Linked DNA regions of Homo sapiens: all the other regions are linked to region 1. Evidence: promoter capture Hi-C in human tissues and cell types (Jung and others, 2019). All regions are on one chromosome and are shown on one strand. Each heading gives the region's core, a stretch centred on a gene start or on the middle of the fragment in contact. The rest is flanking DNA. Distances are from core to core; before and after follow the strand shown.

Region 1 (2,805 bases), core at 259-2,758:
ACATCAAAATGTGTGTGCTGAAAGTATAATTGAAGTTGTGTATATATGTCAGCTAGAGTGTCTGGAGGGGCAGAAATGTGGGTCTAAAACATACAAATGCTCCAAATGGGGTGTGGGCAAGGGTCTGTCTACACCAGGCTGTGATTACCTGCTCACATACATGTGTCTATCTGAGTAGGGGTATGTTATCTATTTTTCTACACCACAGGGTGAGGAACAGGTATATGTGTGCATGTGTATGCATCCGTGTGTGTGTGTATGTGTGTGTGCATGAGTGTGTGTGTGTGTGTCCAAAGCCACCTCTTCAACCTGTGCCATTTGTATCTGTGTCTGGCCCAATGAGAGTGTTGAAAGGTGAGCCACAAGATAAAACAGCAACTTCCTACCTCCCTTATCAAGACAGCTGTCTGACCTACCTCCCCTTGGCCACTCTTGGGATTACTGGGGTTGGCTTCAGTATTTTCAGATTTTTCAGAAGGGGAGGAGAATGCTTGAGTCTCATCCAGGAACTTAGGCAGTTCTCAGCACTGCCTGCTCCTCCTCCCTCAAATAACCAAGTCTGAAGACCAGGAGAGAAAGCCGCTGGTGGACTGGTCACCTGTCTGGCAGTGGGAGGAGGAGAGTGAGAGGTTTCTAGGTTAGGAATCCAGACTTAGACCCTCCCCTCCACCCCCAGATGGGTGGTGCACAGGCTCATCTCGCGGCCCCTCCCCACTCCACCCTAACATGGATACGCCCCCAACAACCAAGGAAAGATCTCCCATCGGCTGACTCCACAGATACACACATGTCCCCACAGACACACACACGCCCATGCAGAGGCACAGACATCCAGGCACATCTTTCCCTTTCTCTGTCTTTCCCTTGGTTTGAATTTCGTTTAGCCACATATGTTGTGTGTGCGTGAGGGTGGGTGGGGGAGGGGCAGACAGGGATGAGGGATGGCATGGTGCCAACATCTACCTATGGGGCTCGGGCCAGGGACGCCCCTTACAGCCATCCTGGGAGGGGGTCTCAGCTGTCCCTTTGTGGCCAAGGGGACCCTCCTGGGGAGTGGGGGCAAGCACAGAGGTCCTTTCTCCCCAACCCGGGGTCTGGTCCCTGACCCACCTTGGGGGCCTGCAGGGGAGGAAATGGACAGAGCGGGACCCTGAGGGAGCATAGAATTGGCCACCACGAGCCCCCAGTGTCCAGCCTTGCCACCCCATTGTTCCCGTGAGGGGGTCTCTATATACAGGGGGCAACTCCTCCCACCTTCCTCTCAATCCCTGCTTTCCCTGCGTTGGGCGGGGAGGGGAGGGCGGCAGAAATATTTATTTATTTCCTTTATTTATTTAATTTTTTTTTTTTTTTTTGGAGTAGAGAGTGACAGATGGCGGCGGGTCCCGGGGGAGCCGGCTCTCCCCCAGTGCAGACGCATGCCAATCACCGTCTCTCATGTGATAGCTGCTGCCCGTGACGTGCCAAGCCCATATGGCCTGGCATAGAGGCTGGTACCCCGCCTGGTAGAGATGCCACACTCGCTCCGCGGTTCGCATGGCGCTCTGAAGACGCCGGCGCCCGCCGCCTTGAGGAGCCGCTGCCCCCGCTCCCTGAAGATGGGGGAACAATGAAATAAGCGAGAAGATCCCTCTTCTCCCCCCTCTCTCTCTTGCCCCCTCCCCCCCTCCCCTCCCCTCTCCCCTTGACTCCTCTCCGAGGTAAGTTGTCCGAAAGGGAGCGAGATCTGACCCGCCGGTTGGGAGGAGGGGCGGCAGCTTCGGCCGACAGGAGGGTCCTCAAATACCTCCTTCCTGGGATGATGCCCCCCTCATTGGGTGGGCATCGGAGGGGCCCCAGGTTCTCTCTCCCTTAGGGGCTGCAGCCCAGGGGGCTGCAGAGGAGGTGTCTCTGCCTGCGATGGGCTCGGTGGGGGGGGAAGGCAGGATCACGGAGGGGGATATGCGAAGAGGCCGAGACGGAGGACCCCTCCATGGTTGTCCCAAAAAGCCTGCCACCTTTCCCCACCACCGAAAAAAGGGAAGCAAACAAACAAATTTGGATTTTTCCCCCATCAATCCCAAAATACAACGAGATCTGAAGAGCCTTGTGGGAGGGAGTCAGCTTGAAGGGGGAAGGGGGTCCCTGACCGCAGAGGGGACGGACTGGGCTCGCTTCTCTCAGTCTCCTCCCCACGCCCCGCTGCTTCAGTCCTCGCCGCCCAGAGCCGGCTCCGGGAGCTGGGGACGCATCGGCTAGAGGAGACGATCCTCCCGCCTCTGGAATTGGGGGTGCGGGGGTGGGGGCCGAGCAAGGGGCGGCGCGCAGCCAAGTTGCAAATTGGATTAGGGAGCGTGGGGGTGAGAGCCACGGGAGGGGTGAGGGAGCTGGGCCGGGGGGCCCGGGCCGCGAGAGCGCGGAGCGGGGCAGCTGTCCCCACCGGCGGCCGACCAGCCTCTCTCCACCGCCAGGAGAGAACGGGCTTTCAGGGCGAGCGCGCCGCCTCCCCTGGCAAAGATATCTGGTCCCTAAAACCCCCACCCGGTCCCTGCCCTGACCCTGAGAAGAAGCAGGCGCGGGGAGCAGCCCCCCATTCAAGCGAGGGGCGGAGCCGGGGCCCAGCGCCGGGGAGAGGGCCTGGGCCGAGATCCCAGGCCGGCAGCCGGGTAGGGCTGGGCCGGCTCTGGGCGGGGCAGGCGGCGGAGGTGGGCATCCAGGGTAGCCTAGGCAGGAGCCCGCACGAGACTCGGGGGTGGAGGAGGGTTGTGGGGGGGCGTCGGTACCCCAGCGCGCCCCTCACTTTGTGCTGTCTGTCTCCCCTTCCCG
Region 2 (2,728 bases), core at 159-2,658, 360 kb after region 1:
GAGACAGGGTTTCACCGTGTTAGCCAGGATGGTCTTGATCTGCTGACCTCGTGATCCGCCCACCTCGGCCTCCCAAAGTGCTGGGATTACAGGCGTGAGCCGCCGTGCCCGGCCTGGCTATGGTTTTTTTGTATTTTTAGTAGAGATGGGATTTCACCATATTGGCCAGGCGGTCTTGACTCTTGACCTCAAGTGATCTGCCTGACTCAGCCTCCCAAAGTGCTGAAGATTACAGGCGTGAGCCACCAAGCCCGGGCTTATGCAAGAATTTTTAAGAGGGCACTTGTCTCTTAAAAATGACTTGTCTTCCACTTTGTGCATTTGGAAATCATCAAATATACTTTTCTGTATATTTGAAGATTTTCGTAATAAAACTTTAAGGGAGGGAGAATGGAAAAAAACAGTTAAGATATGACCTGATACCATTTGTCTTTTAAGAAAGCGTTTACTGTTTAATATAAAAGTGGTTTTCTGGGCCTGGTGCGGTAACTGAGATCGTGCCACTTCACCACTTCACTCCAGCCTGGGCAAAAGAGCGAAACTCCATCTCAGGAAAAAAAAAAAAAAAAAAAAGTGGTTTTCTGTATGGAAAAAGAGGACTAGATTCCTACCTGCAAGATACACAAAAATCAATTTCAGTTGGTTACTGACCTAAACGTGAAAAGCAAAACTGAGTCAAACCTTTTTTTTTTTCTTTTGGAGACCAACCCCGGGGCTCACTGCAACCTCTGCCTCCCGGGTTCAAGAGATTCTCCTGCCTCAGCCTCTCAAATAGCTGGGATTACAGGCACACACCACCATGCCCAGCTAATTTTGTATATTTTATAGAGACAGGGTTTCACCATGTTAGCTAGGCTGATCTCGAACTCCCGACCACTGGTGATCCGCCCACCTCAGCCTCCCAAAGTGCTGGAACTACAGGTGTAAGCCACCACGCCCGGCCAAAAAAGAGCCTCTTTTCTTTATAAATTAAAAAAAAAAAAAAGTAGGCCAGGCACGGTGGCTCACGCCTGTAACCCCAGCACTTTGGGAGGCTGAGGCAGGCGGATCACGATGTCAGGAGTTTGAGACCAGCCTGGCCAACGTGATGAAACTCATCTCTACCAAAAATGCAAAAATTAGCTGGGCGTGGTGGTGCAAGCATGTAATCCCAGCTATGCGGGAAGCTGAGGCAGGAGAATTGCTTGAATCCTAGAGGTGGAGGTTGCAGTGAGCCCAGATTGATTGCACCATTGCACTCTACCTCTGGGCATCAGAGCAAGACTCCCATCTCAAAAAAAAAAAAAAAATTAAATTTATGACTTTAGGGAAAGATTAATAAAATTTAAGGTAAAAAAAAAAAAAAAGTCAAGCACAGTGGTGCACACCTATAATCCCAGCTACTGAGAGTTTAGATGGAAGGATCACTTGACACCAAGAGTTCAAGACCAGTCTGGACAACAGAGACCTCATCTCTTAAAACTAAGGAAACAATATGTCTAAATTTTTTTTTCTAAAAGCCCCATAGCCTCAATTCTAGATAATAGCTATAGTATTTCCTAAATCTCTTAGAACTGAGTTTTTTAGTAGGTACAGTGATTTGAATATTGAATGGTCTTTTGGAGGCTTTAGTAATTAGTTTTGCCCAAACTAATTGTGAAAAAAAGATCCAGCTGGATTGATTTATTCCCTTGTTCCAGACCCCATCCTTTGCCCTAGTTTATAGTTTAAGCAGAAGACATTTCCCCTTGGGGACAATAAAGCCAAGAAAACTGAACACCACATTAAATGTTCAACACATTGGACAACACATTAAGTGTATATACCTTTTAAAAATTAACTTTTAATTTAAAAAGGGCTTAAAATTTTTAAATGAATTAACACTCTCAGTGATCACCAGCCAACACTGCTCATGGCAAAAGCTCTTTCCACATTGCCAGTTTTTTTTTTTTTTTTTTTGCCTCATAAACTTGGCCAGCTCAGAAGAACGAATGGGTAAGGAAGACTTCCAACAGCCATTGCTGCTGACCAGAAAGAAAAGTGAAGCTGGAGGCTACTTGCCTCCTCTCGGGGTGAGATGCAAGATACTTTGGCTCACCTGGAGCCTGTTGAGTCAGCCAAGTGTTTTAACAAGGTTTCTGGTGAAGACAAGCTATCAGTCTCTTGAGCAGTGGAGTTCCCCTGGCCTAGGTCAGAACCAAGTAGTAGCCATCTGGATTCTGCACCGAAAGCAGTAAAAAGGCACCAGCAGGACCAGTCAGGTCCTCACCCTCCAAGCAGCCTACAATGCGTCTGGCACACCCAAGTGTTTTTTTGTTTTATTTCTTTTTTTGAGGTGAAGTTTCGCTCGTCACCCAGGCTGGAGTGCAGTAGCACGATAGTTCACTGCAACCTCCACCTCCCGGGTTCCAGCGATTCTCCTGCCTCAGCCTCCCGAGGAGCTGGGATTACAAGTGCCCGCCACCACGCCTGGCTAATTTTTGTATTTTTAGTAGAGATGGGGTTCCACCATTTTGGCCAGGCTGGTCTTGAACTCCTGACCTCATGATCTGCCCACCTCGGCCTCCCAAAGTGCTGGGGTTACAGGTGTGAGCCACCACGCCCGGCCACACGTGTCTTAAAACCCGACTTCACATCTACCTCTTCCTACCCCCTTGTGTACATAAGCCAAGCTGACCAGCTCTGGCATGTGGAGGGGTGGAAGGCAAACATCTGAATAACCAGATGCCAAGCAGACTAGTCAGAGGTG
Region 3 (2,928 bases), core at 429-2,928, 320 kb before region 1:
CTCAGTCTGGGTCACTGAACTTCATAGAGATGTCAGGAAACTGACCAAGATCCAGAGGGATCGATCAACTTGATGGAGGATGAAGAATCCCAGAGAAAAATCAAAGGAGTCAAGCAGGCACACTTCGGAAAAAACAGAGACACCTTTCTTGCCTTAATGCTGGGGAGGTTTCTGTGAAAAGAACAACACTGGGTTTGCTTATGTCTGCAGAAAGATGACTATAAGGAAAGGCACCTCCACAAACCAGGAGAAACTTCCACAGGACATAGGCAGAGCTATTTCAGACTCAGATGATTATTTCGATCTTGGAATGAGCCCTTTTGGGGCCATTGGCCCTGGAAATATTGAAGAAGCTGCCTGTTCTGCTCTGGGTGGTTCAAATACCCACCTGCCTGGTGACCACTAAGTGCCTCTGGGGGTCCCACTCCAGCTGTGTGACAACTGTTTCCTGGCAGCCCCCTGGGGAAGGAAAGGTAGGTGTAGTCCGAGTAAAGTGCTCCGCAGTTTCCCTGGGCTAGCCTTTTCCTTCCTGTTCCCTCACTTTCAGTTCAGGGTGCCATGAACTGCCATTCAGAGTCAGGTTGGCATGCCATGACATCATCTGACCTTGCTATTCCAGCCCTGCCCTGCATAGAGTGGACTTAGAAAGAAGCTGGGTAAGGAGTTGAAACTACCCAGACAAGACCTCTTGGTGACATGGAGAATGGGAGTAACCGAGGAGACCTCAAGAGCCATTTAGTTCAACCTCCTACAGTAATATTAAGTAGATTCCTACAATGCAACAGGTGCTTTACATACATTCTTTTGGGTTCCCACAACCTTGGAGGTGGGGTTTCACAGGTGTGGAATTGGAGATTAAGACAAGTAATTTGCCCAGGGTCACACTGCCAATAAAGGAGGGCCTACCCCATGTCTACCAGGCAGTAAAGTCTGTGCCCTTGCCTTTAGACGATGCAGATGTGAAAACTGCAGACCAGAGCCTCTCATTCAAAGCCACACAAGCTGACCTGAGACAGAAACTCAGGCTCCTTACTACTGATGGAGGAATCTATGATACGTAGCCTCTTCTCACGTCAGGTGCGGGGCGGCCAAGGATGTGGCCCGGTCCGGGGCAGCCTGGGCCAAGCGTGACTGAGAAGGAGAAGGCAGGCTCCGTTCCGGGCCCTCCAGACCCTCATCCCAGCCAATGTTGTGAAAAGCGCTCTCCCAGGAGGGCCCAGCAGGGCAAAGGGCCGGGCTAGTCTGTTTCTGGAGGAGCCAATCTGGGGCCAGGGCGGAGGCAGCCAGGTGCAGTGGAAAAATCCTGCAGTTGGGGTCAGAATATTTGGGTTTCGATCCAGTCTAGGACCCAGCAAAGACCTACAGAAAGTTACTTACAAGTCCGAGTCTCCTCATCTGCAAAACTGGGGCACGGATAAAATACACTTGAAGGGCACAGAAGCAAAAGTTGGAATTGTTACGCACCAAAATTCTATCATCCGATCTGACCATCACGTCACGGTACAACTTCCAACCGTGCGTCCCCGAAGAGGCCGGGAACGGAGCCCAGGAAAAACTACAACTCCCAGGAGGCGTCGGGAGGGCCGGCCCGGAGCCAGCGGAAGAAACTACAACTCCCAGAAGGCGTCGGGCGTGCCGGCGCGGGGCGGTGACGTACGGGGACCGGCGCGGAGCGCTGATTCGGCCGGAGCTGCCAGCGGGGAGGCTGCAGCCGCGGGTTGTTACAGCTGCTGGAGCAGCAGCGGCCCCCGCTCCCGGGAACCGTTCCCGGGCCGTTGATCTTCGGCCCCACACGGTGAGCCCGGAAGGAACCAAGAGGCCCCAGGGCTACGGGAGGGGCGGGAGAGAAGGTGGGGGCTGCTGGGGAGGCGCCCCGGGCTGGAGAGACGGGGGCAGAGGGAGTGGGGGGTGGAGGGAGTGCATCAGCCGAGGGGGTGCATCGGCTGGGGAGGTGGCCAAGGAATAAAGTGCGAGCGGGAGGCCGGGGGTGGAACGTCGGGAGGAGCGCCTCGGCTAGGGGTGGGAGGCGGGGAGCGGCTCGGCTTCGGGGATAAACGTTTGGCTGCCTCCAGGGCTGGGTGAACGCGTGGAGATGGCTGTGGGGTCCCGGACCGGACCGGGTTCCGAGTGCGAAGACCCAGGCTGGGGAACAGAGCGGGACCCCTCCCCCCGGCCCCGCACCCGAGGTCTCACTCAGAAAACCCCAACAACAGTGAGGACTCCGCCTCTTCGCTCCTCCTCTCCTGTGCTTAGTGCGGGTTCGCCTGGGCACTCGCTTTCCGCTCCTACCGCCCTCCCCCAGTCGGGGTGGCTGGGCCAAAGTTGAGAGGTTATCAGCTGTGGTCCTGCAGCTTGGGGGGTGGGCGGAATGGACATGGCATTGTGACGTGCTGCCCCGGACTCCCCGTTGGGGTCCCCATCCAGGCCTGGATGTTTTGTGCTCCTCTTCCAGAAGACAGGAGGTTTGCTGTTGTGAGGGCTGCTCTTTCCTGGGGGAGGGAATGGGAAGGGCTCACCTGGTGGCTGCCCTGGTGGTGCTCAGCCTTGGCTTGAGTGTCTGGCATACTGGCTGGGCCCGGATATTTGTATGTGGAGCCAAGAGGGTGGGGCGGGAAGGAGGGGGAAAGAGCTACCAGCAAAAAAGTGGTTAACACAACAGAGTTGCTGCAGGCTCTGGTTTGAGGCAGGTTATGAAACCACATCAGGGCCCAGCACTAAGCAGCCACCTGCCAGCTATGGCAGCAGAAGTTTTCGGCTCAACTCCTGTAGACCTAGTCGACCTCTGCCAGCCTCTTCTCTCTGTTTCTCCCCATCTAGGGTAGGGGCCAGTTGGTTGTTTTACTAATGGAAGTGATATGTATCCATAGTCACACGAAAGTCTCAAGAGTGTTTCCTCATTGCCAGTCTTTTTGTTAGTTTATTGATCTC
Region 4 (2,993 bases), core at 181-2,680, 390 kb before region 1:
TTTCTTTTTTCATTTTTGTGTTTTTGTTTGTTTTGTTTTGTTTTGAGATGGGGTCTCCCTCTGTTGCCCAGGCTGGAGTGCAGTGGCACGATCCCGGCTCACTGCAAGCTCCGCCTCCCAGATTCAAGCAATTTTCCTGCCTCAGCCTCCCAAGAAGCTGGGATTACAGGCTCCCACCACCATGCCCGTCTCATTTTTGTATTTTTAGTAGGGACGAGATTTCACCATGTTGGCCAGGTTGGTCTCGAACTCCTGACCTCAGGTGATCTGCCCGCCTCGGCCTCCCAAAGTGCTGGCATTACAGGTGTGAGCCACCATGCCCGGCCGACTCTCCATTTCTAGAAAGGTTTCTCTATAGCATATGATGCTGTTTGACATCGTTCTACCCACAGTAGAACTTCTTTCAAAATTGAAGTCAATGCTGGCCTGGAGCGGTGGCTCACGCCTGTAATCACAGCACTTTGGGAGGCTGAGGCGGGTGGATCACCTGAGGTCAGGAGTTCGAGACCAGCCTGGCCAACATGGTGAAACCCCATCTCTTCCAAAAATAGAAAAAAATTAACTGGGCGTGGTGGCGTGCACCTGTAGTCCCAGCTACTGGGGAGGCTGAGGTGGGAGAACCTCTTGGACCCAGGAGGTGGAGGTTGCAGTGAGCCAAGATCATGCCACTGCACTGCACTCCAGCCTGGGCGACAGAGCAAGACTCCATCTCAAAAAAAAAAAAAAAGAAAGAAAGAAATGGAGTCAATCCTCTCAAACTGCTGCTGCTTTATCAACTAAGTATATGTAATATCCTAAATCTTTGTTGCCATTTCAGCAATGTTCACAGCCTCTTCACCGGGAGTAGATTCCATCTCAAGAAACCACTTTCCTTGCTCATCCATAGAAGCAACTCATCTGTTCAAATGTTATCATGAGATGGCAGCAATTCAGTCCCATCTTCAGGCTCCACTTTTTTTTTTTTTTTTTTTTTTTTTGTAGAGACGAGGTCTTGCTATGTTACCCAGGTTGGTTTGGAACTTCTGAGCTCAAGTTATCCTCCTGCCCTGGCCTCCCAAATTGCTGGGATTGCAGGTGTGAGCCAGTGGGCCTGGCCTCAGGGTCCACTTCTAATTCTAGTTCTTTTGCTATTTCTACATCTGCAGTTTTTTCCTCCACTGAAGTGTGTCTTCAGCCCCTCAAAGTCACCCATGAAGGTTGTAATCAACTTCTTTCAAACTCCTGCTAATGTTAATTTTTTGAGATGGAGCCTTGCTTTTGTCACCCAGGCTGGAGTGCAATGGCATGATCTCGGCTCACTGCAACCTCCGCCTCCCGGGTTCAAGCGATTCTCCTGCCTCAGCCTCCCAAATAGCTGGGGTTACAGGAAAGCGCCACCATGCCCGGCTAATTTTGTATTTTTAGTAGAGATGTGGTTTCACCATGTTGGTCAGGCTGGTCTCGAACTCCTGTCCTCAAGTGATCCACCCGCTTCATCCTCCCAAAGTGCTGGAGTTACAGGTGTGAGCCGCTGCACTCGGCCTAATTTTTAAATTTTTTTAATACAGATGGGTTCTCACTTTGTTATTCAGGCTGCTCTTGGCCTCCTGGGCTCAAGCGATCTTCTTGCCTCAGCCTCCCAAAGTGCTGGAATTATAGGTGTCAGCCACCACTCCCGGCCTAATCATGAATATTCTTTTTTTGTTTTTTGAGAGAGTCTCACTCTGTCACCCAGGCTGAAGTGCATTGGCACGATCTCGGCTCACTGCAACCTCTGCCTCCCGGATTCAAGCGATTCTCATGTCTCAGCCTCCCGAGTAGCTGGGACTACAGGTGCGTGCCACCATACCTGACTAAGTTTTGTATTTATTTATTTATTTATTTATTTATTTATTTATTTATTTATTTTTAGTGGAGATGGAGTTTCACCATGTTGGCCAGCTTGGTCTCAAACTCCTGACCTCAGTTTATCCACCTGCCTCAGCCTCCCAAAGTGCTGGGATTATAGGCATGAGCCACCACGTCCGGCCCTAATCATGAATATTCTTAATGGCATCTAGAATGATGAATGCTTTCTAAGTTTTCAGTTTACCCAGATCCATCAGCGGAATCACTATGGCAGCTCTAGCCTTACAAAATGTATTTCTTAAAAAAGACTTGAAAGTTGAAATTACTTCTTCATCCATGGGCTGCAGAATGGATGTGTTAGCAGGAATGAAAACAATATTATTTCCCTGGTATCCCTCCATCAGAGCCCTTGGGTAATCAGGTGCATCGTCAATCAGCAGTAATAACTTTAAAAAATATTTTTTTTGGCTGAGTGCGGTGGCTCATGCCTGTAATCCCAGCTACTCAGGAGGCTGAGGCAGGAGAATCGCTTGAACCTAGAAGCAGAGGTTGCAGTGAGCTGAGATCATGCCACGGCACTCCAGCCTGGCCGACAGAGCCGACGAAGGAGTTGGTCTCAACAGTGGCTTAAAATGTTCGGTAAACCATGCTGGGAACAGATGGGCTGTCATCCAGGCTTTGTTGTTCCATCCACAGAGCACAGGCAGAATAGATTTAGCATCATTCTTAAGAGCCCTGGGATTTTCGGAATGGTAAATGAGCATTGGCTTCAACTTAAAGTCGCCAGCTGCATTAGCCCTAACGAGAGTCAGCCTGTCCTTCGAAGCTTTGAAGCCAGGGATTGACTTCTCTTCTGTAGCTATGAAAGTCCCAGGTGGCATCTTCTTCCAATAGAAGGCTGTTTGTCTACATTGAAAGTCTGTTTTTGAGTGTAGCCACCTTCGTCAGTGAGATCAGCTAGATCTGATGGATAACTTACTGCAGCTTCTCCATCAGCACTTGCTGCTTCACTTTGCACTTTTATGTTACAGAGACGGCTTCTTTCTTTCAACCTCACAAAACAACCTCTGTTAGCTTCTGACTTTTCTTCTGCAACTTTCTCACCTCTCTCTGCCTTCAAAGGATTGAAGAGAGTGAGGGCCTTTCTCCGGACTAGGCTTTGGCTT

The links. Contacts are between HindIII fragments. The study calls those that stand out against the background at their distance.
Region 2: a fragment that was not itself captured here is called in contact with the fragment with the promoter of NEUROD2 in region 1 in 1 of the 25 tissues and cell types used here (spleen).
Region 3: a contact is called between the fragment with the promoter of ORMDL3 here and the fragment with the promoter of NEUROD2 in region 1, in 3 of the 25 tissues and cell types used here (lymphoblastoid cells, spleen and thymus).
Region 4: a contact is called between a fragment that was not itself captured here and the fragment with the promoter of NEUROD2 in region 1, in 1 of the 25 tissues and cell types used here (lymphoblastoid cells).

The regions. Positions count from the first base shown.
Region 1 is chr17:39,606,623-39,609,427 of GRCh38, reverse strand. NEUROD2 (neuronal differentiation 2) reads left to right here and starts at 1,508. Exons shown (of 2, transcript NM_006160.4): 1 at 1,508-1,700. The HindIII fragment of the contact is 16,482 bases long and covers 1-2,805 here.
Region 2 is chr17:39,248,520-39,251,247 of GRCh38, reverse strand. No RefSeq gene overlaps it. Among named protein-coding and RNA genes, the nearest start is that of STAC2, 24 kb to the right of the region's middle. The HindIII fragment of the contact is 6,399 bases long and covers 1-2,728 here.
Region 3 is chr17:39,926,351-39,929,278 of GRCh38, reverse strand. It overlaps ORMDL3 (ORMDL sphingolipid biosynthesis regulator 3), which reads left to right and starts at 1,678. Exons shown (of 4, transcript NM_139280.4): 1 at 1,678-1,795. LRRC3C (leucine rich repeat containing 3C) reads right to left here and starts at 1,547. Exons shown (of 4, transcript NM_001195545.2): 1 at 1,465-1,547. LOC124903999 (a long non-coding RNA gene) reads right to left here and starts at 2,559. Exons shown (of 2, transcript XR_007065750.1): 1 at 2,517-2,559; 2 at 2,277-2,351. RefSeq lists enhancers at 1,202-1,813, 1,814-2,424. The HindIII fragment of the contact is 12,451 bases long and covers 1-2,928 here.
Region 4 is chr17:40,000,406-40,003,398 of GRCh38, reverse strand. No RefSeq gene overlaps it. Among named protein-coding and RNA genes, the nearest start is that of PSMD3-AS1, 13 kb to the left of the region's middle. The HindIII fragment of the contact is 8,544 bases long and covers 1-2,993 here.